Regions from separate parts of the Homo sapiens genome. Here regions 2, 3, 4, 5, 6 and 7 are each linked to region 1. The links are contacts of gene promoters, found by promoter capture Hi-C in blood cells and fetal thymus (Javierre and others, 2016). All regions are on one chromosome and are shown on one strand. Each heading gives the region's core, a stretch centred on a gene start or on the middle of the fragment in contact. The rest is flanking DNA. Distances are from core to core; before and after follow the strand shown.

What was found. The method cuts DNA at HindIII sites, captures the fragments that hold promoters and counts their contacts. A CHiCAGO score of 5 or more calls a contact.
Region 2: a fragment that was not itself captured here is called in contact with the fragment with the promoter of RIMOC1 in region 1 in 1 of 17 cell types (naive CD8 T cells); the score reaches 5.4 in naive CD8 T cells.
Region 3: a contact is called between a fragment that was not itself captured here and the fragment with the promoter of RIMOC1 in region 1, in 2 of 17 cell types (total CD4 T cells and non-activated CD4 T cells). The highest score is 6.4, in total CD4 T cells.
Region 4: a fragment that was not itself captured here is called in contact with the fragment with the promoter of RIMOC1 in region 1 in 7 of 17 cell types (non-activated CD4 T cells, total CD4 T cells, naive CD8 T cells and 4 more); the score reaches 11.1 in non-activated CD4 T cells.
Region 5: a contact is called between a fragment that was not itself captured here and the fragment with the promoter of RIMOC1 in region 1, in 1 of 17 cell types (neutrophils). The highest score is 5.2, in neutrophils.
Region 6: a contact is called between a fragment that was not itself captured here and the fragment with the promoter of RIMOC1 in region 1, in 3 of 17 cell types (neutrophils, fetal thymus and naive CD8 T cells). The highest score is 6.5, in neutrophils.
Region 7: a contact is called between a fragment that was not itself captured here and the fragment with the promoter of RIMOC1 in region 1, in 2 of 17 cell types (naive CD8 T cells and non-activated CD4 T cells). The highest score is 6.5, in naive CD8 T cells.

Annotation. Positions count from the first base shown.
Region 1 is chr5:41,902,726-41,906,405 of GRCh38, forward strand. It overlaps RIMOC1 (RAB7A interacting MON1-CCZ1 complex subunit 1), which reads left to right and starts at 1,619. Exons shown (of 6, transcript NM_175921.6): 1 at 1,619-1,742. The coding sequence starts at 1,643. RefSeq lists enhancers at 1,052-1,191, 1,303-1,849, 1,602-1,721. The HindIII fragment of the contact is 10,560 bases long and covers 1-3,680 here.
Region 2 is chr5:43,615,978-43,619,657 of GRCh38, forward strand. NNT (nicotinamide nucleotide transhydrogenase) reads left to right here. Exons shown (of 22, transcript NM_182977.3): 4 at 1-88; 5 at 3,055-3,142. Among named protein-coding and RNA genes, the nearest start is that of NNT-AS1, 15 kb to the left of the region's middle. The HindIII fragment of the contact is 2,643 bases long and covers 648-3,290 here.
Region 3 is chr5:43,592,745-43,596,424 of GRCh38, forward strand. The region is part of intron 1 of NNT-AS1 (NNT antisense RNA 1); the gene reads right to left. Among named protein-coding and RNA genes, the nearest start is that of NNT, 8.6 kb to the right of the region's middle. The HindIII fragment of the contact is 6,357 bases long and covers 1-3,680 here.
Region 4 is chr5:43,557,724-43,561,403 of GRCh38, forward strand. No RefSeq gene overlaps it. Among named protein-coding and RNA genes, the nearest start is that of PAIP1, 2.5 kb to the left of the region's middle. The HindIII fragment of the contact is 889 bases long and covers 1,379-2,267 here.
Region 5 is chr5:43,523,810-43,527,489 of GRCh38, forward strand. PAIP1 (poly(A) binding protein interacting protein 1) reads right to left here. Exons shown (of 11, transcript NM_006451.5): 11 at 2,458-3,660. The coding sequence ends at 3,567. Among named protein-coding and RNA genes, the nearest start is that of C5orf34, 11 kb to the left of the region's middle. The HindIII fragment of the contact is 1,815 bases long and covers 664-2,478 here.
Region 6 is chr5:43,504,436-43,508,115 of GRCh38, forward strand. C5orf34 (chromosome 5 open reading frame 34) reads right to left here. Exons shown (of 13, transcript NM_198566.4): 4 at 1,313-1,959. C5orf34-AS1 (C5orf34 antisense RNA 1) reads left to right here. Exons shown (of 3, transcript XR_007058763.1): 3 at 1,773-2,762. Among named protein-coding and RNA genes, the nearest start is that of C5orf34, 8.9 kb to the right of the region's middle. The HindIII fragment of the contact is 1,624 bases long and covers 1,281-2,904 here.
Region 7 is chr5:43,487,961-43,491,640 of GRCh38, forward strand. C5orf34 (chromosome 5 open reading frame 34) reads right to left here. Exons shown (of 13, transcript NM_198566.4): 11 at 2,671-2,769. It overlaps C5orf34-AS1 (C5orf34 antisense RNA 1), which reads left to right. Exons shown (of 3, transcript XR_007058763.1): 2 at 84-182. Among named protein-coding and RNA genes, the nearest start is that of C5orf34-AS1, 5.9 kb to the left of the region's middle. RefSeq lists an enhancer at 853-1,022. The HindIII fragment of the contact is 440 bases long and covers 1,864-2,303 here.

The DNA of each region.
Region 1 (3,680 bases), core at 369-2,868:
TTTAAGTAGTTTAAGAATGGTAAATTACACATTTTCTAGGAGACTGAAAATTCCTAATCAAAGGTTAATTATTTTTTGAAAATTATTTTTTGAAAAGTTTAGTAAAATCTTCTGAAGGCTTCATTTAGTTCTACATCTTGTAGAAGATTCAGAAGGCATCAGGTGTAACCTTCTGCTCTTTTCTCTATCCATTGCTGGCTCCCTACTTTCATTTTGAATTTATCCCTATTTCCCTATTTTTCCCCCTTTGTGTACAGATACGATCATTCTCCACCCTACCTTCCAGCACTTGCCCCTCTTCAACTACCACCTTCTCCATCCCTTGTTGAGAAAGCCTTCTCTCAACTTCTTGTTTATACTTAGATTCTTTTTTTCCTCACCTACAATTCCCACACTATTGAATAATTGTCTACTCCCACAGACCACATCATATCCCCTTGCCATCTTGCTTGTTGACAAGAGTGCATATGTGCCAGGCACTGTATGAGGCACCAAGGACACAAAATACATGATTCCTGTCCTCTATATTTAGGGTGAATTGTCAGAAGAAACTGGTATTACAAAGGTCAGTTAGAGAGTCATTGTGGTCAATCACTTATAAATCACAATACACTTTTTCTCTATTTTTAGTATTTTTCTATTACATATAAAAAACTACCTTCCATGAGAAACAATAGGATGGAGATTATTCAAGATATAGTGTGTCAAACTGAGAAATGAATACACAGAGTTAACGATTTGTTTGACCAGAGGCAAGAAAGCATTCACAGAATGCAAAGTGAAGTTAGACTTGCTGACTGAGTGCTTTGAAACTCCCGATTGAGAGGATGAACCTCATGCACAATTAGCGCCTTAAGGGAAGGTCTTGAGATGAAAGAAAAATGAAAATAGTTTTGTGGCCGCAGAATTTACTACCACTGGACGCAAGATGTCTAAAGTACTTTAAATGTGAACTCCAAGGGAGGTCAGAGATAAATTCGACTGCTAAAAATCAGATTTACAAAAGCAATATTCAACCATGTAGACTGGCAACTCCACTAGTGTTTGGAGCTCCCCATCCAGATGTACAACAAACTCTTGGAGACTTGGATGTGTTACACAGGGGGCCGGTCGGGTTTCCATTTAGGACCAGGAGATTATAATCACTTTATTTTAGCAACCTCCTTACTACAAGGCCAAAACTGACAGTCCTCTCTCCAGACCCTCGCGTCCGCCCTCCAGACTGTGCTTCCCGCGCCGGACAGGGAAGTGGGAGTGCGGACGACAATCCGCATCCTGCCAGCCAGACGTCACCAAGCTGTCTTCCAAGAGGCAGGCGGAGAGAGCTGACTTCCGATTGGGTCAGCCGAGGGGCACGGCTGGCTCCCTATTGGCTTACAGGAGGGGGCTAGAGAGAGGCGTGTCTCAACGTCACACCCGCCCCTAGTCTCCTTGCTGCTCAGGATTATGGGAGGGAAGGGAAGTCCAGGAGGGAAAAATGACCCGGAAAGACCTTTGCCGGCCTGGGCCAGCCCTCTTCCGGAGCTGATGTCTCCTCCCACCAACCAGGAGAGGTCCGCCCTAGGCCCCGCCCGTGCCGGGGGATCAGGTGATTGCGGGCCAACACGGTCACGTGACCGGGGCGCACCCGCCGATTGTGGCCATGGCGGCCGCAGTCTCTAGTGTGGTGAGACGAGTGGAAGAGCTCGGGGATCTGGCTCAGGCCCACATACAGCAACTTAGCGAAGCTGCCGGTGAAGATGGTGAGGGAGCGGAGGAGAGGGAGGCGGGCGGGGCAGACGGCGCTAAGGTACTGGCGCTCGATGGCTGTGAGGGCTAGAGGCTGAGGCCTGTGTTCCTTTGGGTCCCAGGCCGCAGGTGGTTACCCGAGGTCTGTCGCTTCTGAGCCCCTCTGCGCCATCGATTGCCCACTTCCCAGAACTCACAATGCCAAGGCGTTGTCTTCGAAAACCGCATTATTCAGAACCCATGGAAAATCTGTCTAGATCCGTGCTGGTGTAAACTGTCTCGGTAGCGATTGGAAGAAGGGCAGAATCTAAATAAAATACAGAAGTTTAAATAAATGGCTAAGATGAATGATAACACTCAAATTAGTTATGGTGGTTTGCATCCTGTAAAGATAAAAAGACATGTATAACAGTTCCACTTTTTCATTGCTGCGTTGTAATTTGCGTTTTACGTTTTGGATTCAAAACAACATTCTATAGAAGAGCTTTACATTGGTGTGTAGACTATTCTGCCCCATACATCATGCCAGTTCTCACAAGGGCTCTGTTAAGTATTGGCATACTTGTTTTGGAAAGGTCTAAGCTGTTAGGAAAAACTGGGCTAGGGAATTGCCTCAACCTTCTGAATTTAAGTCCAATTCTTTTCATTACGTCTCAGCTGCCTTTAGGTTCTACATTATTCCTTTTTGAGTTTGAGCAATTACTACAGATAGTTTTTAAAATTCTGTGGACTGACTCATATCATCGGACTCATAGGAAAACAGTGGTGGAACATTTTCTTAAGCGATTGAATAGTTGGTGAATTTGTTATTAAATAGGGTCTATGATGAAATGCCTTAGTTTCAGTGAATATTTTTTGCCAGATTATCATTTATCAGGAGTGTTTTGTTTTGTTTTGTTTTTAGAGGCAGAGTATCATTCTGTTGCTCAGGCTGGAGCCCCTCTAGTAGTGGGACAACAGGCGCACACCATCTCGCCCGGCTAACTTTGGCATATTTTGTAGAAACGGGGTTCACCATGTCATCCAGGTTGGTCCTGAACTCCTGGGCTCAAGCATTCCACCCGCTTTGGCTTCCCAAAGTGCTGGGATTACAGGCGTGAGCCACTGTGCCAGGCCAGGAGTGTGTTCTTTAAAGACCTACAGACCACCCTGAAGCCGACTTATATTTTGGTCTGTGGATTCACATGAATAATTCTTGGGTAGTAGGAGCTATTAACTTGAAAGTTATCTATGTTACCTCTAATTCCAGATTCACTTGAACCAGTCCAAAGAGACCAAAGAATGTTTTTTATTCACTTATCACTGAACTAAAAAGCCATTCTCATTTCCCTTGGAAGAGTTCTTTAATCTGGAATGAATCAGAGCTGGAAATAAAAGTCATGTGCTATATATGGAATTCTTGTTTGAAGGCTTTATACTTCTGAAAATTTACTAAAATAAAATGACAATGTTAGTGGTCCACATTATGAGCCGTTGATCAGCATGGAAATCAGTTCAATCTTAAAAATATTACAAGATTTATGAACTTTAATTAAAACAAGATTTCATGTACTTGAATTGAATTTGGCATTATTTTTCCACGCAACAAGAATAATATACATTCAAACTTTGTTCTTTAATGTAATGAGTATATATTTATACTAGGATATAAGGGTTTGATGATTTCCATTGTCTTCTTCAGATTAGATGAGATACAGCCAGACATTATTTCATCTAAGAATGCGTCTTTAAATTTCTAGCCAATTTTTGTTAATTTATTTCTCATCATACAAGCACAATCTGTTTACTCTATGGAAGTACGTCATGAGGGAGTTTTTCCACAGATTATATAAGAATCAGTTTCATCTTTTGCTTTGCCAGTCATTACTTTGACTAAATAGTTCTAGTCAAAATACTGCATTTTATGGGCTTTTCCAAAGTGTGAGTTATGCCACCACCACACCCCTGCCACA
Region 2 (3,680 bases), core at 719-3,218, 1.7 Mb after region 1:
AAACTACAGTTCTGGCAATGGACCAGGTTCCAAGAGTCACAATTGCTCAGGGATATGATGCGCTAAGCTCCATGGCCAACATTGCGGGGTAGGTTCTTTTCCATTTCAATTGAACAAAAGCGCAATAGTGCTACAGAAACCTTCACACTGTAGCTCTTCTGTCTTACAGTGATTTTATTTGTAATTATTGTTGGAGATTACAGCCTTTTGAGAGTGCATTTAAATTATTTTTGACTCATTTTATTGTTTTACAGTAATTAGATAGGAAATGAACTCTATTTATATTCCTTTTTAATCTTAATGAGTAGAAGAGTAGTAATGTTTCCATTCACCAAAGCAAATAGCTGTCAGATTATTTGTATGAGGAACACACTGTATTTCATAAATGTGTGTGTACATGTATATGTAAGGTTGAAGTTACTGTTTTTATAGGTCAAAAATGGTAGAATAGTGACAATTTCATGTGGTTAAATTAATATGCATATATTAGTGGATTTGCTGTCTTAATTAGGTTTTGCTTAGGTAAATTTATAAAATATTTAAAGAATAGGAAAAAGGTCTGGACTAGAGGAAGTTTCATCTGATGTCAAAACCCATATTGATAACTGAGGGCTATGTCTTCGACCTTTAAGGTCAAGATGGTAATAAGCTTCATTTGCCCAATAGCACTAATACATTCTATGTTGATTGCCTGGAGTACTATGTTGAGAAGGATTCTAAGGCCCATTCTGCTTGGAGGAATGTGGCTATGATTGAGTAATCATGCCTGCCATGGGTGAGGGACAGGAATAGCTACATGAAAGCAGTGTACTGCTGACTTTGCCTTAAAGGGTGGGAACAATCTGGAAATGGGATAAGGCTTATGAATCAACTTCTCTAAGAAACTAATTAAATTAGATTTTAATCATGAAAACTATTAGTAGTTGAGAATTTGCTAATATTAATGAGGCACAAAGAAAATAACCTTTTTAAAAAAACAGTGCATAAAAAGACACTAACATGACTAACATGAATAAAGCCTTCTATAGCCTGACACCTAAGCAGAAAGTTTTCTTAGGTTTTATATTTTAGCATAGGAAATATGTCATAGATTCTACTTTGTGTTTTAGCTGCACACTTTTAAATTTATTTAGCCTGTAAGGGAGTTATATTATGCAATGTGTGACTTAAAATTTTATCTAGAAAATGTATAATGTAAAGTTTTAAGGGTGCTGTTGATTCTGAAATACACATATGTGAAAGAATATCAAAACCAGTCGCTCTAGATCAAGTGGTTTTAGCTGTTGAATCTTTTGAGCAAATGAAATATTATGAGACAATATAAATAAATCCAGTAAGAGCTGAGTAGCTTTGGGTACACTGAGTATGGCAGGATTGTGCAGAAACATTCCTACTCTCCATCTCATCCACTATGGCCCCAGATTTGTCTGAAGTTTAAACCTTCAGGGACCCAGGGATCACAATTTGAGGAATCACTCTTCTATGTCCTGAGCTGATATATGCAGAGAGCATAGTGTGAAAGGAATCATCTAGTATACATATCCATACAATGTATGATAAATCATTATCCGTCTCATTCATACACACAGCCATATTACAGTGAAGATGTGCTACTTCCACTTCATTACTGTTCATTCTGAACTTTTTTGCTGTCATGAAGAAAATGTCCAATTTATTACTTTTTTCACTATCAATGTTTCCTCGTACATTTCCTGTGTAATCTCCTTTTATTATTTATTTTTCAGAATAGCAACTGAATCTTTTAGAGCATTAATTCCACAATTAATTTCTTACAGTGGCCTTTGAATCTTTGTCATATTTGCCCATTAAAAATTGCTGTCATTTGAATTCAGGAGAGCAACAGATACTGTAATCTCTAAAGTATTGTTTTTTGCTCCAGTGTGATTAACTTAATAATGGTGACTTTATATGTTTTTGCATCAATTATTGTATCAAGTATTATTATGTAAAAATATGATCAGGGAGAAGATTTTCTTGTCACCTAGCAGGGGAGTTTTAATAGTTGCTTTATAATATTGAGCCAGTGTATATATTACCAAGTAAGAATGCAAAAGTGCCTTTTACATATAAATTGCTATGAAAATGAAATTAGTGTAGCATGTTAAAAATATCCTGTTAAAGAAAAGATGATGCATATTATTTGATTTATTAAATAGTTTGTTTCTTTGGCTAAAACACTTAATATTCACTGAGCATTTTCTATGTGACAGGCTTTATGCGAAGTGTTTCACCTGCGTTATCTCATTTAGTCCTCACGACCCTAAAAGATAGATGCTTTTTGTCCTTACTTTATAGATGAGGAAACCAAGGTTTAGAAAATTTTAAAAATTTGCCCAAGGTCACAAAGGTAATCAGTCAGAGAACTAGGACATGAACTAAGGTCAGTATATCGGAAAATCCCATACTTTGAACCATTAGAGATCAAGGGAAGTGTTTCTTCTGTTCTCCGAGGTTGAAATCTTATTTTGTACAAGCCTATGGCTGACCTAATTTTTTTTATTTTAAGGATTTTCCCCCCATTACCTAAGCACTACCCAGTCATCAAACAATATTTGGACTATATAGTAAAGTAAGTGTGAAGGATGTATAGTCCTAGTACCCAAAGAAAACCATTGTTAGTATTTTCCTATCTTTCTTTCATTACATTTTCTATTATGTTCTACAGTACTTGTTATGAAGAGGGTGGGTGCATAATGGATAAGAGAGTGCCTCTGTAGGCAGACTGCCTGTGTTAGACTTCTGGCTCTACCATTTACTAGCTGAGTGACCTTAGGCAAGTCTCTCAGTCTGTATCTCAGTTTTCTCACCTATGGGATGAAGACAGTAATTGTACCTTTCCATAGGCTTGTTGTGCAAATTAAAGGAGCAAGTGTATATACAACACTTAGAACTGTTTTTGACACATAGTACATACTACATAAATATTAGCTATTATTCTTTGACAAAACTTCATTGATGACTTATGATGATATGTGAGTCTGAGATCTCTCCTTTTATGGAATTATTTATTTATTTATTTATTTATTTTTAAAGTTATAAGGCTGTTGTCCTAGCAGCAAATCATTTTGGACGTTTTTTTACTGGTCAGATCACAGCTGCTGGAAAAGTTCCTCCAGCTAAGGTAGGTACAACTTTTAATGTTTCTTTATAATATGCATTGATTAAAGGAAAGGGTATGTATAGTCTTAAAATACAGTTATTTAAAAATTTTTATATGTTAACCTCACTGATGACTTTTTGGTGTGTATAAATATTTCACGAAACCTCAAAGCTTAACGTTTAAGATTGCTAGAAAAAAATGAACTTTGACTTTCTGAAAGTTCTAGTCTTTTCTGTTTTTTGACTTTACTAATTTGAATTTTTAAAAGAATTTTGGATAACTTGTTCTCTGTAGCCTATATATTATTAATTTTTAAAAAAAACTTTCAAGATACCATTCAGCAGATTCTGGGTTTCTCAATTTTTGCAACATTTTGGCACATATACAAGGTATTTTTGGTTTCTTCACTTCTTGTCAATTTTTGGATCAAGAAGACAGGAAATGGGAGGTGGTGTAATCAGAGTATTTGGCAGAGAGAAATGGTGCCAGTTTCTTTAATCCACACTGAAAGCAGAGAGGAGCAGTTAACGATGAGAGGTGACGATGGCTTGCTGAAAGA
Region 3 (3,680 bases), core at 633-3,132, 1.7 Mb after region 1:
TCAGCAAGCAGGCTTTTGCCACTGGCACATTTTGTTTCCCTATTTCTCTCGTTCAATCTATTAACTGCTCTTTTTGTTGGCATGTGGTCAAAACCCAGTATCTTTTTTCTATTTCAACTCCTACAGAATATTCACAATGCTTTCCTTCCTTTTAACAAGTATATTCTGACTGCCTAAGAAAGCCAGACACTCTGTTAGGTGTTGATGACATGCCAATGAATAAGATAAAATATCCATCTTCAAGCAGCTTGCACTTCAGTGCAGGAATTATACAAATAGGAAATAATATGGAATGCAGTGAACCAAATGTTTATGTCCCTGCAAAATTAATATATTAAAATCCTAACCCCCAAGGTGATGGAATCAGGGGGTAATACCTATACCCAATACCTTGGGTATTGGGAGGTGATCAGGTCATGAGGGCAGAGTCCTCATGAAAGGGATTAGCATCCTTATAAAAAGAGACCCAGAGAGATACATTGCTTCTTCCCCATGTGAGGTAATAGCTGTCTTTGAGGACACAGTCCCTCACCAGACAACAAGTCTGCTGCTACCTTGATCTTGGACTTCCCAGCCTCAAGAACTGTGAGAAATAAATTTCTGTTGTTTATAGATGACCCAGTTTATAACATTTTGGTATAGCAGCCCAAACAGACTAAGACAGAGAGTGATAAACACTATAATAATGTTAAAACTTGAGTCTTATGGAAGGGCACTTAACCTTGGATGGTCTGGAAAGGCTTCTGTGTAAAGGTCTCATCTCAAATAAAATTAAGGATTAGTAGGATAATCCAGGAAAATGAATGGGGAGGGAAAAATGAGAGGGACTTGATGTTCACAGAGGACTCCCTCTTTCTCTCTATAAAGGGGCTTCTGTTTTCCTTGCTTCTCTTGGTACCTTCATTCCCACAGGGAAGTCATTTTAGCATCCCCTCTCAGAGGATACTCTTTCCCACCAGAATCATTGAACTCAGAACCAAAAGACCTACAGTTAAGTCTCAGCTCTAATTCTTGTTGTTGTGACTTCAGATGTATCAGTTTACCCTAAGCCATTGTTTCTTCACCTTAAAACAGGAACAGGCTGGGCACGGTGGCTCACACCTGTAATCCCAGCACTTTGGGAGGCCGAGGTGGGCGGATCATGAAGTCAGGAGTTTGAGACCAGCCTGGCCAATATGGTGAAACCTCATATCTACTAAAAAATACAAAAATTAGCTGGGCATGGTGGCGTGCGCCTGTGGTCCCAGCTATTCGGGGGGCTGAGGCAGGAGAATCGCTTGAACCTGGGAGGTGGAGGTTGCACCACTGCACTCCAGCCTGGGCAACAACAGAGTGAGACTCCATCTCAAAAAACAACAACAACAAAAAACCCAGGAATAATAGAACCTTCTTCCGAGTTATTAAAGTGATTAAATCAGGTAATACATGTCAAGGTGGTGTGTAAACTGAAATATTACACAGAAAGTAACTATTCTTACTGTCCTAAGGTGGCATGATTTATGCTTTTGGACTCTTGAGCCCATTGTGGAGATTAAGAAACAAAGAATCTGTAATCATCAATATGAATTTATAGTTACTTTTCAGGTCTGACAAGTTTAAACCCTGAAATTAATTGTTCCCTGAGGCTTTCTAAAATTTTTGAGTTAATGCTATAAATTCCTACAATTTGTCGTCTACTCAAAAGCCACTACAGAGGGATGTAGTGCCTAAACTGTCACCTAACAGTAGAGTGTGCCAGCAATGCAATCTTTAGAGTACCTTGGACACTCTATCAGATAAAAAGATCACTTGAAAGGGGAATTTGACAATTAACATGCCAAATAAATGTTGAAAACACTGACTAAAGATGAGGTGTGGGGTAAGGAAGATGAAAAACCTCTTTATCCCAAATTCAGGATGGCATCCTGAACCTTCAATGTTTGCTTCCACTGATAAGAAATGATTTCATGAAATTGCTTTCTTAATCTACAGGCAATTCATTTGAAAAATTTATGCCACAGGAAAAGAGGCAATAATGAATATTTTCAGTAAGCTGAATGTACCGAATGTACCTTACTTTTATTTTTTAGATTGTGAGAGTGAGGGACTTAGTCTCAGAATAATTACAATACTTAACTTTTTTTTTCTAATTTTACAAAGAAACATTAAAAAAACAGCAAATTTGAAAGAATTTTATGTACTTACCTGTGCATCTACCACCTAGAGTCTACCATTACTATTTTACTACACCTGTCAGGCTTATTTTTTTAATTAAACATTTTATTTTGAGATAATTGGAGATTCACATGCAGTTGTATGAAATAATACAGAGAGATCCCCCCCTGTAGGCTCTACCCAGTTTCCCCTAAGGGTAATATTTTGCAAAACTATAGTACAATATCATAACCAGGGTATTGACATTGATGTAATCAAGATACAGAATATTTCTATCACCACAAGGATTTCTCGGGTTGGCCTTTTATAGCCACAGCTACATCTCTTTTACCCTCACCCCCTCCTCAAACTCTGGCAACTACCAATCTGTTCTCTATTTTGATAATTTCATTTTTTCAAGAATATTATATAGTGGGCCAGGTGCAGTGGCTCATGCCTGTAGTCCCAGCAGTTTGGGAGGCCGAGGCAGGCGGATTGCTTGAGGCCAGGAGTTGAAGACTACTCTGGCCAACATGGTGAAACCCTGTCTCTATTAAAAATGCAAAAATTAGCTGGGCATGGTGGCAGATGTCTATAGTCCCAGCTACTTGGGAGCCTGAAGTGGGAGAATTGCTTGAACCCAGAAGGTGGAGGTTGGTGTAAGCCGAGATTGAACCACTACACTCCAGCCTGGGTGACATAGGGAGATTTGGTCTCAACAACAACTATATATATACACATTATAAATATATATAATAATACATATACTTATATATATACATTATATATTAAATATAATGTATAATGTATATATAGCTATATAATCTATAATTATAGATTATAGCACTTTGGGAGACTGAGGCAGGAGGACCACCAGAGGCCAGGAATTTGAGACCAGCCTGGACAACATAATGAGACCTTCATTTCTACAAATAAAAGAGAATGTTACGTAAATGGAATAGTAAGTATGTAATCTTTTAAGACTGGCTTTTCCCTCTTAGCATAATTCTCTGGGGAGTGATCCAAGTTGTTGAGTATTTCAGTAGTTCATTCATTTTCATTGCTGAGTAGTCTTCCATGGTAAGCATGTATAACAGTCTGTTTAACCATTCACCTGTTGAAGGACATATGGGCTGTTTCCAGTTTTTGGCTCTTATGAATAAAGCTACTATGAACAATTATGTACAGGTTTTTGTGTGAACATACATTTTGTTTCTCTGTGACAAATGCCTGGGAGTATAAATGGTAGAACCATATGGTAGTTACAGGTTTTTTAAAGAAACCATCAAACTGTTTTCCAGTTTGACTATATCATTTTATACTCTCAGCAGCAATGTATGAATAATACAGTTTTTCCCCACCCTTGCCAGATTTTGATATTATCGCTATTTTTCGTTTTAGGCATTTTTTTTTTTTTTTTTTTGGACAAGGTCTGGCTCTATCGCCCAGGCTGGAGTGTAGTGGTACAATCCTGGATCCTAGCTCACTGCAACCTCTGCCTCTCAGGCTCAAGCCATCTTCCCACCTCAGCCTCCTGAGTAGCTGAA
Region 4 (3,680 bases), core at 573-3,072, 1.7 Mb after region 1:
TTTTCATCTTGCATCAGTGCTGTCCAATGAAAATATAATGCGAGCCACAAATGCAAGCCACTTATGTAATTTTACATTTTGGAGAAGCCACATTAAATGAGTGAAAAGAAACAGGTGTGGCCAGGCGCAGTGGCTCACGCCTGTAATCCCAGCACTTTGGGAGGCCGAGGGGGGCGGATCACCTGAGGTCGGGAGTTCGAGACCAGCCAGACCAACATGGAGAAACCCCGTCTCTACTAAAAATACAAAGTTAGCCGGGCGTGGTGGCACATGCCTGTAATCCTAGCTATTCTGGAGGCTGAGGCAGGAGAATCGCTTGAACGCAGGAGGCAGAGGTTGCAGTGAGCCGAGATCGTACCGTTGCACTCCAGCCTGGGCAACAAGAGCCAAACTCTGTCTCAAAAAACAAAACAAAACAAAACAAAAACCAGGTGAAATTAATTTAAATTTATTTAATCCATTATGTTCAAAATGGTTTTTTAACATGCGATTTAAAATATTAAATATTTTCTCTGTTTTTTAGATACTAGTTGAAATCCAGTGTATATTTTACACTTATGGCACATCTTAGTCGGGATTGGCACATTTCAAGGGCTCAAGAGCCACATGTGGCTAGTGGCTACTGCGTTGCACAGCACAATTCTAGATTTTATTAATATGTAAATTGTTGTTTTTGTCAGGCCTGACAGTATTAATGCCAAATAAAGGATAGATGAATATAAGTAACGACAAGGAAGGAAAAATTGATTTCTTTACTGTTGGATTGATCCATCTCCATAAATTCTGATTTTAGCCTTTTGTTTTAAGCAGGGTTTCATGTTTTTCTATCTTTTCATCTTAAGAATCATTTCAATTAGGGACACAAACTCTTGTTAACCGTTTTCTCTTCTCATTAATAAAGAAAACAATGTCTTCCCCTAAACGAATGAGAAAATGGCTTCACCGAGGGCAATCATGAATAAATGGTTCATGCTATTGATGTTAGGCAAAATAATGAAGTCAGGGAAGGAAGCCAGCAGTACGTGTGGCTCTTCGGTGTACGGAAAGTTTAGGATTCAGTCTGCCAGAGCTTAGTTGGGATTCCACTCTTGACTATTGCTGTCTGTGTGATTTTGAGTAAGTAAGGGGTTTAGCTTCTCTGAGCCTCACTTTCCTCATCTGTAAAATAATAACTGTGTGGTAACACTCAGCATATATTGCAGAGACAAGATTACAATTTAAAAATTACAATTTTAATATTTTCAAATTCATTATTGTATGTGGTCACCAGTCACTTCTTGCCTGGACTTTTTTATCATACAGGAAAGACCCATAAACTATGCTAAAAAACTAACAATGAGTTATGTTCCACTGAAGTAGATGCCCCAACTCTGCCCCAAGCTTTTGTTTGCACTCACCACCTTTTCATTTCCCCTTAAAACTTTTATGATGAACAGCACCTTTTCTAACAACTGGGACTTTCCCATGTGAAGATAAGGCCATTCTGCATCCATGGTGATGTCACGACATCTTCACACCCTCTTGTTAGGAAAATTAGGTAAGATATCCTTTGCCTTCTCTGTATTTGTTACTGTATAACTTTTGCCCTATTCTTATAATGTGTGGATGGTGGACTTGGAGATAACACGAATGGATTTTGCATCATGATAATAAAAATATCTAATATTTATTATGCGTCAGTCACCTTTTAAGAGCTTTTATTTTATCATTTTATTTTATCCTCATATCCTGTGAGATAGACATTCCAATATTTTCACTTTACATAAAAGGTGCCAAGATACCGCAAGGGCTCAGATCCATCTTGGGACTGTTTTAGAGCTAACTGGCAGGTATTGCAAAATGCATAGACAGAAACACATGAACGTGTGAACACCATGTGGAACTCCCTAAAGAGAATCATCAAAGTGCTCCTCATCCACGTGTATGCCTTTTTTATTAATTTATGGTGAAAGGAGAGTAGAACTAAATTTGGACAAATTGGAAAATATGTTGTAATATGGAAAAGGACCTGCTGTGAACTATGAAAAAAATGTTTCCTTAAACTGTACTTGAAAGGCATTCTCCAGTAAGACTTCCCAAGCTGCCTAATCTTAGATTCTCTCCCTTGTGATAAGTATACCCTGGGAAAACTGTCTTGGTACTTAGCATGCCAGATTGTTATCGTTAGTATTTGGTTTATTTAAATGTCTCCTTCCCTAAACTAGCCCTCTGAAGACAGAGGATGCCTTTTAATCCTTTAGGTCCAACCCAGTACTTAGTCCATAATAAGCTTTTAACAGAAATAGGACTCACCTGCAATGGTCCTGCCTTTCCTTAGGTCACCAGTCTAGTGATGGTAAAAAAAAAAAAAAAAAAAAAAAGACTGTTTTTTTAGAACTTATTGACCTCAGGATCATCATTAGACCTTATGGGAGTAGACAGTACAGCCTTCAAGGCCAGCTAACAGGAGAAAATTTTCATAAATATGCAAGAGGAAATATTTGCAAACCACATGGTATAGTTTGTATATTTGACCCTCCAAGCCTCCTGTTGAAACTTGATCCTGAATGTTGGAGGTGGGGCCTAATGGAAGGCGTTTGGGTCATGGTGGCAGATTCCTCATGAATGGCATGGTGCCATTCTCACAGTAACGAATGAGTTATGGTTTTACTAGTTCCCAAGGAGTTTCCCCAAGAGCTGGTTGTTGAAAAGAGCCTGGCACACTCCCCCTGTCTCATGCTTCCTCTCTTGCCATGTAATCTCTGCACACTGTCTCCCCTTCACTTTCTGCCATGCATAGAAGCAGGCTGAAGCCCTCACCAGAAGCAGATGTTGGTGCCATGCTTCTAGTACAGCCTGCAGAATAGTGAGCCAAATGAAACCCTTTTCTTTATAAATTACCCAGCCTCAGCTATTCCTTTATAGCAACAAAAATGGATGAAGGCACCACATATTTGACAAAAGACTTGTATCTAGAATATATAAAGTACTCTCAGAACTCAACTGTATTGAGAGTACTATAGCCAGGTGCGATCCCAGCACTATGGGAGGCTGAGGCGGACAGATTACCTGAGGTCAGGAGTTCGAGACCAACCTGGACAACATGTGAAACCCCGTCTCTACTAAAAATACAAAAATTAGCAGGCATGGTGATGCGTGCTTGTAATCCCAGCTACTTGGGAGGCTGAGGCAGGGGAATCGCTTGAACCCGGGAGGCAGAGGTTGCAGTGAGCCGAGATTGCACCACTGCACTCCAGCCTGGGTTGAGCGTGACTCCGTCTGAAAAAAACCCAAACAAACAAAACACCTAACTCAACTGTAAAAGGACAGTTCAGTTAGAAAAGGGCCAAACATAAATGAAAGAACACTTCACTGAAGGGAATATACAGATAGCATAAGCCTATGAAAAATGTTCAACATAATTAGCCAGTAGGAAAATTTTTTTAAAACCACTGAGATTTCACTACCTACTTATTCGAATAGCTTAAATAAACAATAGTGACAATGCAAATTCAAGGATGTAGAGAAACTAGGAACTGTGTTGCTCATACATTGCTGGTGAGAATGTAAAATGCTATAGTCACTTTAGAAAACAGTTTCTTTAAAAAACTCTACATATTAAGTACTGTACTACCTAGCAATTGCACTGCTGGACATTTCTCACAGAGAATTAAGATTTATATTCACATAAAATCCTGTAC
Region 5 (3,680 bases), core at 321-2,820, 1.6 Mb after region 1:
GACACAATAGAGCAGCAGCATACATGAGCTTAAATTATTTACATCTGCTGAAGTCTAGTCCGCCAAAGATCACCAGGCTCAAGCCTGTCTTCTGACAAAACCATTTATTGATTTGCAAGCAAGGGAACCAGAAGCAGCAAAGATGGTGCATTCCACAAGAGGGCAGGGGGTGCCATCTTTGGTAAGGTTTGGGTTCCCAGTGTAGGGTTCTGAGCAAGCTATAAGGGAAAGGAGACCAGTTCTGGGTTGGATGCTATTTCTGTAGCAAGATTAGATGTGAGAATTAACTAGAGATTGGTGCTGCAATGAGGTGAGGGCAAGTTTAGCAACTGGATATCCCCAGTAGTAGATGGGTTATAGCAAAATAGGTCTAAGGGTGTCACAGCCAACAAAGCAGTGGTCACATGAGGGAGTCATGATGGTATTTTATAGCTGCTGCAGGACCTAACAGTTTCATGTTAACTTTGCAGCTGCCTTGCCTGTCCCCCTGACAGTGGTGGAGCTTTTTTTTTCAGTTTGAGCCACTTTGAGTCCTAGAGTTTACTTTCATACCAAACATCCTCCTCTCATTAAATGTGAATGATTTTTCCCCCTAAAGTACAACTTAATCCATATGCATCTGTCCTCTCTAAAGATTTAATGAAATACCTAATTATAGAATTAAGCTTGCTTTCTGGCAAGACCCAGCCTAGAGTGAACGTTAAGTTTTAGACCATCCCCTAAATCACCAAAGCCCAAATCCTACCACAGATTCTAACACACTCTTACTGATGCACCCCACAACTCCCACAAGGTGTATGTTCTCCTTTACTGCAACAATAAGCTCAGGCCGGGCGAGGTGGCTCACGCCTGTAATCCCAGCACTTTGGGAGGCCGAGGTGGGCAGATCATCTGAGATTGGGAGCTTGAGGCCAACCTGGCCAACATGGCGAAACCCCGTCTCTACTAAAAATACAAAATTAGCCGGGCATGGTGGTGCGTGCCTGTAATCCCAGCTACTTGGGAGGCTGAGGCAGAATTGCTTGAACCCGGGAGGCAGAGGTTGAGGTGAGCTGAGATCACGCCACTGCACTCCAGCCTGGGCAACAAGAACAATACTCTGCCTCAAAAAACAAACAAACAAACAAAAAAAAAAACAAAACCCAGTAAGCTCAACATGTTCAGGTACAGTGTGTTCCTGGTAGTCTATGGCTGGAGAGCATTAACAACATAAAGACAGAGGGTCAGAGTTGATGACAACTTCTAGGTTAAGACCAATATTTGTGGTTTTTTTTTTTTTTTTGCCAGAACGCAAGACTATATTTACTAGCAGCTCTGTGTCCTTGCTCATTGGAAAATGATCTTTCCTCAAGACTTGCTGACACGTTTCTGTTTAAGGCATGACAATCCTAAAGGCCAACAATTGTGGACGGGGGCAACTCTTCCTTTCATTATGTACTGGTGTAGTCAATTATGCAAAGTCTGGTCAACCAAAGACCACCAGGCTCAAGCCATCAGTTTTAAAATATGGCCACATGCTCCTTGATGGCCTATGTGATATGGCTTTAGTAACTCCCTTAGGACCAAGAGAATATAATGGAACTAATGCTGTGTAACTTCCAAATGCAGCTGCTTTCTGGGTCTTTTGAAATGGCCCTTCAGAATCCAGGCAACATGCTGTGAGAAGTTCAAGCTACATGGACAAGTGTAGATGGTTCTGGTGAACGATTCCAATCTAGTCTTGGCTTTAAAAGTCATCTCAGTACCATGAATTCAGATGATTATAGCTCTCAGATATTCAAATTACCCTCAGCCCTTAGTTTTCCTTGCCTAGGCCTCAGACATCATAGAATAAAGCCATCCCCATTGTGCCCTCTCCAAGTTCCTGAACTATAGAGTCCATGAGCATAATAAAATGATTGTTTTAAGATGCTAGATTTCTGTGCTTTTTTTATTAAGCATAATACCGGGAACAGATATTGATCTTGTCGGTAGCTACTGTGAGTAGAGCAGTAGTTGGTGACAATGAGCTAGTAGACAAATACTGGACAGTTATTCACAGAGCAGCTGCTAGAAGTTTCAAGTATATGCAGTTAGCATTCCTTGTCCCTGGTCTAATGTACCATCTCTTCTCTACACCTCCTCTCCCTCCAATATTTATAGTCAGTGCTATCTTTAGAGAACTGCAGATTATGTTAATAGCTGCCATGTTACAGGAGCCATTTTGAAAAACATTTCTTACTACAACTTCCAAAAACCACAATTACGTACATTATTTCCTTTATAGAAGGAATTTTAAAGTTTTAATGTTTTATATTTGCTAGTTTTTCAAGGTAGACTTGTTACTGAATTCTTATTCAGAGAATGAATAAAATATCTTCTAATATGATTTCTTTGATTTCAAACCATTAAGTAAATTAATTATGTCATTTAAGTTCAACAGCAAATTATTTAAAATACCAGATGCTACTTCAAAAATTTAGAGGAAACAACTATTTAAGCTTTATTTTCAAAGTCTAATTTTAATTCAGACTGAACAAACAAGCAGAAAAGTGAGAAAGCTAACTGTATTAGCAGACACAGATGTACCAAATGTAAAACAGTGGGTTATTAACAGAACTATTTACATGCATATTTACAAGCAATCCTTTTGTACACAGTTTTTAGTTAGCTGGAAAAAGATTTGACATTAGGTAAAAATATTATTTATTAGGGCTGAGGTGGTACCACATTATAGTAAAAGTATTAGAAAAGTGACCCTCAAGGTGTATCAATTATAAAGCAGATGAAAACTTGAATGACAAATATCTAGTAAAATTCTCTAGTAAAAAAGTCGATGCAACCCATGCTACAAAATAAAAGTGAGAAAGCCATATAAATAAAGCAGAATAATGTTCTAGCCTTTAAGGTAATGAAGTTAGTCAGTTGAAAAAATAAAAATAAAAAAGAACAATTCTAGAATTGGAATAAATCTTCAGTGAAGTCTTGGTTGTTTAGCTGGGAGTTCACCAAGTTGGGTTTTTCCCCCCCATGACATTTAAAAAGCCCTTGGTATCAAATAGCATCTGCATATGTAAATCAGTTGTTGATATATTCCAAGACTTTAGTGCTAAAGATTTTCAAGATTATGATTCATATTTGAAATTCAATTCATTGGGACACTAAATGTCAAACTAAAATGAAAGCTATAATACTCCTACCTAAAAAAGGATGCTACATTTTTGCAGTAATATGTATTTCCAGAAGAAGACTTTTTCCCCTCAAGAAAAGTAGAATTTAAAGGATAAGCATCTAACCAACTAGCAAAATTTTCAACATTTCATTTATTTCAAAATCGATTTTATTGCAGCCAAAACAGTAGAATTAACTGTACATAATAAACTATTATATATATATACACATTTTAAGTTATAGGGAATAAAGTTTATTTTGGCAGATAGTGTTAAACAAAATTAAAGTTGCATACATTAGTAACATAACTCAACATCCTTAATTTGGTATAGATGTGACATTTTCTTGCTCTCTTGTGTTCTGCTAAATCACCATACCTAAACTGCTTTATAAAACTGATATGCTGAAATTTAACTTTACTGTTTTCGCTTACGCTCTGATTCCAAACAAAACTTTTCATAAGCTTCTTCTATCTCTGGGTCCATCTCATCATCAATATCATCCAAGTATCTGTAAAAGCAAAGATGATT
Region 6 (3,680 bases), core at 843-3,342, 1.6 Mb after region 1:
AAGAAGAGGCAAGTACTGCATGCTATGGAATTGTATAGGACTTAACTTGTTTAGGGTCTTCAGGAAAACCACTCTAAAGAAGTTAGGTTTAAGCTGAAACCTGGAAATGAGCATAATTTAGCCAGCTGAGAGAGAAAGAGAACACTCCTGCAGAGTAAAGAGTAGGTGCAGTGGTCACAGAGTGCTTGAGCAAGCATTTTAGGGATTGCTAAAGTCCAGCTTAGCAAGAATAGAGAAAGCAAGGGCAAGAGTAGTGAGAGAGTTGAGGATTACAGATATAGGAAGGGACCAGGTCACAAAAGACCTGGTAAGCTATGTGAAGGATCATGGATTTCAACCTAAACATCATGGTAAGTTATTGAAAAATCATTACTTTTGAAGCATAATTCCCTTTTGATGTGTACTCGTAATACTTTTCTCATTTTAACCAGATAATCATGACAAGCCTAACAGTCATTCCCATATTTTTGTTTTAAATAACAAATGTATACTCAGAGATTGCCTGGGATCAAATCTCAATTTTACAAGTACTAGCTGTGTACCTTTCCTCAAGTTATTTAACATTTCTATGTCGCAAGTTCCTCTACATATAGGGATGATACGTTTTTTAACTTCATGGGAATGCTTTGAGAATCAAACGGGTGAAGTCCAACAGTACCTGGCACATAAGTGTTTTGTAAGTGTTAGTTTTTATCATTATGATTTGCACTGTTTATGCAAAGTTGATGTTACAAATCTACAATCCTTAGTGGAGTTAAAAGTTTTATACTTAGCCTTACAGAAGCCACTCCGTGTGTACCCCTTTTGAAAACAGACGTATTTATAGTCAGTGAACCAAAGACACGGGTAGCCTCTGAAGCTAGGTATGGACAAAAGAACTGTGTCAGATCCACACTCCAGCAAGCAAGGTCACGGGCTCCAGTGAGCGGCAGCAGGTGCTCCCCTGGGCCCACAGAGCCCTGTGCAGACTCCTGTCCCATCATTTAGCATACTTTAATAATCTTTTTAGGTACAGTGACCTTCACTAGATTCTAAGTTGCTATAAAGCAGGGACTGTGTCTTAGTCATCTCTGCAGTTACTGGACTTAGCACAGTATCTAGTGTAGAGTCAGCCTTCTACATTCAATGCATGGACACAGAGTAAAAAACATAAGCAACACATTTGCTAGGGAAATTATTTACTATCAGTTAAAAGCAAAATTTTGGATGAGATAAACTTTCCTTGTGAATGGTATCAGATAAAAAGAAAATTATCCAGGTTAAGACTGGTTCTGATAAAAAGCTTCATGACCAATAGCCATTACTGCATTACCTGTGTAGGTGTGGGACTGGACAGCTGAGTGACAGGGCCCTGGGAAGAACAGAAACCACTTTTCCTCTTTCCTCTGAAATATCAGAAGTTAAAAATCTACTCTGAGTTATATGTGCATCAATTTTAGACATATTGCTGATTTTATTATGAAAATGAAGTGCTAAAGACAAAGGATATTTCCATTCCTCTGGACAGGCAGCCACAGACCAGCACTGCTTGACCCATGTGTATACACATGTGTGCTTTGTACCAGGCGAAGGCAGCTCTTCCCTCCCTTCAGTTCCATTTACACAACTCATCTTCTTTAAAGTTTCTTTGGATTTCATGATCTGGCAATGAAACTCATTTTCTTTATTCTTCAGTCTCTGTCCTGGTAAATTTCCACGTATACAGATTTTGCCAGTTTTTTCAACTAGTTTATCTTTTGGGGCTTTATTATTTGTTTCTGACAACACTGCAGATGAGTCTGACTTCTGGCTAACTTTACACAAAAAATGTACTGTAAATTCATGCTGAGATCTGGGCAGGCAGAGGTATGCATGACCATCTAAAGATGTTATCTTCACAATGCCACTCTCCATATATATCATGGTACCATCTGTATCAAGACTGGGCCATCTCACTTCTGTTATGTCAATGAAGATATGCTGCAAGGAGAGGGGAAAAGAGACGGTGAGTATTTTCTGTTAACAGTCCAATTTTTCCATATATTTGATATTTAAGTATTGTGTAAGAAAGCTCTTAAATATTTGTGTTTTACTATCTACAGAGAATGAAAAAATGGAGGGCCAGATCTCAGCCTATATATGATTTTCCAGAGAATGTTTGATATTGTTAAGATTATCACCCTTAAAAAAAAGAGATGTAAAACAGACACAAAATGAGAGAAATGGTCATATTTAGTGTTAAATGTATTTTGGTTTTAAATGTACAATGAATTAAACAGATTTGTATCCCTCCCCTCACCCTGCAAAAGTTTACTCTGAAAAAAAACTAGAAATAAGGGAAGACCAACACTATGATACATTATATTAAAAGCAATCATAGCTAAAAATTTTTCTTTAAGTTTTAAATAAAAAAAAAAGCAACCATAGCTTAAATGGTACAGGACTACCATAAAAATTATTGACAGAACAACTCAGAAAATTCAAAAACAAACTCAATCATATCTTAAAATTTACATGAGATAACATAAGTTTTTCAGAGCAAGAGGGAAAAGAGAAAATTATTTAAACTAGTACTAGAATTACTGAACAGCATTTGGGAAATTCTGTCTTGCAGGGTTATCACATGAACCAAATAAGGTAACATGTAAAAAGTACCCATCCTAGGTAGTACCTGGCACACCATACACTAAAATAAATTTCAGGAGGCTTAGAGGAAACTTTAAAAAAGTTTAATTACTCAAAGAAAAATTGATTCTGACTAATAAAAGACTCATAACAAGTAACAGTGTTGATTGTGACTTTTCATATAAGATATAAACAGTAGATATTGCGTGAGAGGTTTTTACTGAATTAATTTTGCCAAGCATTTAGCATTTCAATTCCATTTATGTAAAATCTTACGTTTACACAAACTATTGTCAAGAAAGCTTCCTAAATTTACCATGCTATCTATATGTACGATGTTAGGACACTAAAATTGAGGGCTGTATTTACTGACAGCAAAGCTGGTTTGTAAGGATGGTCATCAAACTCCTCTTTTAGAATTAGACTATCTAATAATCCTGCTGCAGCATCAGCAACAAGCTAGGCAGTTTCAGTGAATAAAGTGACTCAAAAGACACAATGGAAAATTACCATTCTAGGCTAAGTTACAACTTATAATTTTTTATGGCTCCTTTGCCACGAGACAATATAAAATTACTCAGCCGGCAGGCAAGCATCTTGACAGCATAGAAAGGTAGCAGAAAGTAGTTGAGAAACAGAGTTTACAGAGTCAGATAGACTAGGTTCAAATCCTGACTTTGCCACTGAGAAAACTGCCATAGACAAATTAGGTAAACTCTCTAAGACATAATTTCCTTGCCTATAAAAAGAGGCTGCCGGCCGGGCGCGGTGGCTCACGCCTGTAATCCCAGCACTTTGGGAGGCTGAGGCGGGCGGATCACGAGGTCAGGAGATCGAGACCATGCTGGCTAACATGATGAAACCCCGTCTCTACTAAAAATGCAAGAAATTAGCCGGGTGTGGTGGCGGGTGCCTGTAGCCCCAGCTACTCGGGAGGCTGAGGCAGGAGAATGGCGTCAACCTGGGAGGTGGAGGTTGCAGTGAGCCGAGATCGTGCCACTGCACTCCAGCCCTGGCGACAGTGTGAGACTCCGTCTCAGAAAAAAAAAAAAAAAAAAGAGGCTGCCATCTAGCCA
Region 7 (3,680 bases), core at 834-3,333, 1.6 Mb after region 1:
AAAAGAAAAAATTCATTCAGTTGTCTGATTCTTTTGTATTCATGATATTTCAAATAAGCATACCTGACTTTTTTTTTCATTAGAATTTTAAACGGAAGAACGCAGAAGAATTCTCTTTATGTTACCTTTATTTAGCAACAAATCAACTTGACTCAACTGATACTTACTGAGTGCCTTTAAAGGTAAGTGAATAAAAGTCTACCCCTTGTAAATCCACTTCAAGGAATTTGTAATCAAATATTGATGTTTGAGGATAATGGGCCTTCCTGTTACTTCTTAGTACTAACCTAGCTTACACTCTACTTTCCTCCCTAAAGTTTACGCAAACTTTACAAACCTATTAAAATCCCATTCCTTCTGTGAAAGAACTGCTCTCTCCTTCCTTGAATTCCTATAGCATATTAATTAATCACATACTTATTTGTAATATCTTCTCTTGAACTATTTAACTTCCTGCTCTTCCTACCTAGATTGTTTCTCTCAGAAGAAAGGATTTTTTACTTTTCTGTACTTGTGCATATATTAAGACCTCATTTATATGGAACTCTTTGGGAATGGATGGTATGGGAGATCCAAGTTTTTAAATAGTTGAATTACGTGTCAAAACAACTATTTTTTATTAAATTCTTTCTGGAATAGACTACCTACTTATTTCATTGTTTTTTTAAGCACAGAGGGTTAACATGATGAACATTAGCTCTTATACCATGTTCTATAGAAAGATAGTGGGACAACTGGTATGGAGTAGAGGGCTAATATATACGTCTCCAGCAGAACCCCTAAGTGTGTGTTCTTTATCCTTTTTCTTATCAAGTTAGAATGAAATATGAGCAATGGCATACAACTACAAACTGTAACTTGACTAGCTCTCTGCAAAATTAATGAAGACATTAGTCTAAAATATTCAAGTCACCAGAAAAATCTTCACAGTTCGTAGTAGGTTGTGTGACTTGTCTGCTTTATTGGCTTTACTACAACAGATCACATGCACCTCCCTGTCAGCTTGTACTCTTTCCCTTGTACTCCAGCCTATGGATGGAGAATGAAAAGAAATATTTCATAATTTTAAACACCTGTGGCAAAGAACTTGGATACAACTTACCCCAACAACCAGCTGATTGTTCATTATTGCAAAATATCTTTTTTTTTTTAAACCCAACGCATTTTTCTGGATGTAAGAAACAATACAACCTTTATTGTTATTGCTCTCATAATGAACGAACTTTTTATGAAACGTACTATTTGTTGACTAAAAAGTTGAATTAATAAGCTAATAATGGAGGGTGTGGCGGAAAAAAAATACTAGAATACAACTTAGGTAGCTTTTTATTGTACAATCTTGTTTCTTCCTTCAACCTACCCTCTTTGATAAGAAAAACCGAAGTGGAGATACCTAAGGCTTTATAGGGGGAATGGAGCTACTCCTCAATTTCTTTATCTTGCCTCTGCTGTTCCTAGTTGCTTTCACCTTTAGCTACTATCACCAATCTCTACTTGCAGTTTTTAGTGTGTATTGACAGCCTCTTCTCAGCTTTCAAATAAAAAGGCTGATGATATTTTACAAACTGCCAGCTAAGCAATGGTGAAGTGATGGTTTTATAGACAAGTACAATTTTCCTTCCATCACAATTGTTTTTTGCTAGTTACTTTAGCAACTTTTCTGCTTCCAAACAGGCTACAGCTAAAGGATGAGGGATCTGCAAAGCTGGATCCTTAAGCTACCTGAGATATTCAAATAACGCTTACTGATATGATTTGATTTGTTCTAAGAAAGGGCTTAGGAAAAGGTAACAAAAATTGGCTTAATGTTTACATTTTGTTTCACTACACTATGTTAGGTCACCTCACAAAACTTACTTAAAAAGCTTCCCAAATTGTTCCTGGTATCCCTGTCTTCCCATATATTCAGGTTAGACTCTCAGTGACACTAATCTTCTAATGACCTTTCTTCCTATCATTTTTCCATTTAGGACTTTCTAATTCCATCAGGTCTGAACTCCTATTTATTATAAGATCCATTCCTAGCCCTCAAAACTCATACTATATACTAATAGATAGCATATGTTCCATAAAAACTATCTTCTATCTCCACAGGCTAAAATATCCTTTTTACTTCTGCCCTTATTTCCTCCCTAAAATGTCTTATATTTTCACAGAAAGTTCCCTTGAAGCCCAGTTCTAGTACCCTGCACACTGAAAAGCACACAGGAGGGACTAAAATACTTGCTTTATTTGATCTGCCAGTTAATTTGGGAGAAGTAACTAATATGACAGAAATTATTTAAAAATCAATGTTTTCTGAAAGCTTATGTTATTAAACCTTTTATTTCCTTCAACATTACTAAAAATTTAAGAATCCCCTTTAAATTTTTCCATAAAGTTTTCAGGATGAATTTGTCACATAAAAAGAGCCACTCATTTTCATGTTAAGTTTTCAATGCAAGGTTTTCTTACCTTTAGGTAAAATAGAATATGATGAAATGTAATAAATTAGATGTCTGATTAGAAATTATTTTCAAGCTTAAGCTATCAAAAATACTTTAGGAGTTAAACATATTCAAAACTAAGAAAGTTTTTTTGGGGAAAAAAGTCTCAGTTTACCATTTGACATTTTAATTTTTTTTAAAGTATTAGCTCTTCTAAACAGATTTAAGTTTAAAAGAAAAATACCAATTTTCTTGGAGAACAGAAGATGACGAATGAGTGGGCATCTCTCTGGGACTAGTCTGGGTCAGTCTCCTGCACCATGATGTTACTGTTGTCACATATCTAAAGTGAATACATTAAAAGAAATACTTGAAAAATGAACTTGAATACATTATAAAATTATAAACAAATGTAAAAATAAGACAATTTGGGAAAAAAGGATAAAGAAAAAATGTTAAAGTGAAGCATTTACTGGGCAATTCTCAAAATATTTTTCACTGGTCATAGAAAAGCCAAATTTTTTCCATTATTCATCAAGAATAAAATGATTTACTTATATTTGTGATTAATACAAGTGACATTTAAGAATCAAAATAAAGGCGATATTTGGATTTCATTTAAAGTTCAATTTTAAATGTTCTAATTCTTTTAGTTTTTCAAAGTAAAATGCGTTTAAGTTTTATCAAAAAATATTCACACAAAATAAGACTGACTGAGCATTTGCTTACTAAAATTTAAACCAAAAAACACCTGCTAATGCATATACACATATGCTTGTATGCATATGTGTAATTATATGTAACTTACTACATATCTAAAACAAGTATCAAGTTTAATAAAATGAATGATCTGAAATGATTGGCTGAATCAATAGAAATGTTTGCTAAAGAAACTATCTTTTTTGAGGCAAATCATTAATAGCAATGAATGAGCACTTAGACTGAAACACAATAAAACCCAACAGAAAAATACATTCAAGAGGTAACAAAAAGCTATTATTTTGTGAATATTCTCAAGTGAAATCACTAAAATGTGAAGACTATCACAAGATTTACTGTAATAAATTAGATAAACCAAAAGAAAAAAAATTCATAAAAAGCTGAAGACTCTTCCCCATTTTAAGATAATCATTGCGTAATTTTATCCACTTTATAGAAATATACAGAATTTCAGTTATTTGTGGTTGCAAATCTTATTTCAAATTGGCTAGAGGATTAGTTAATTGTTAACACAGCTGACCATATCCAACCTCC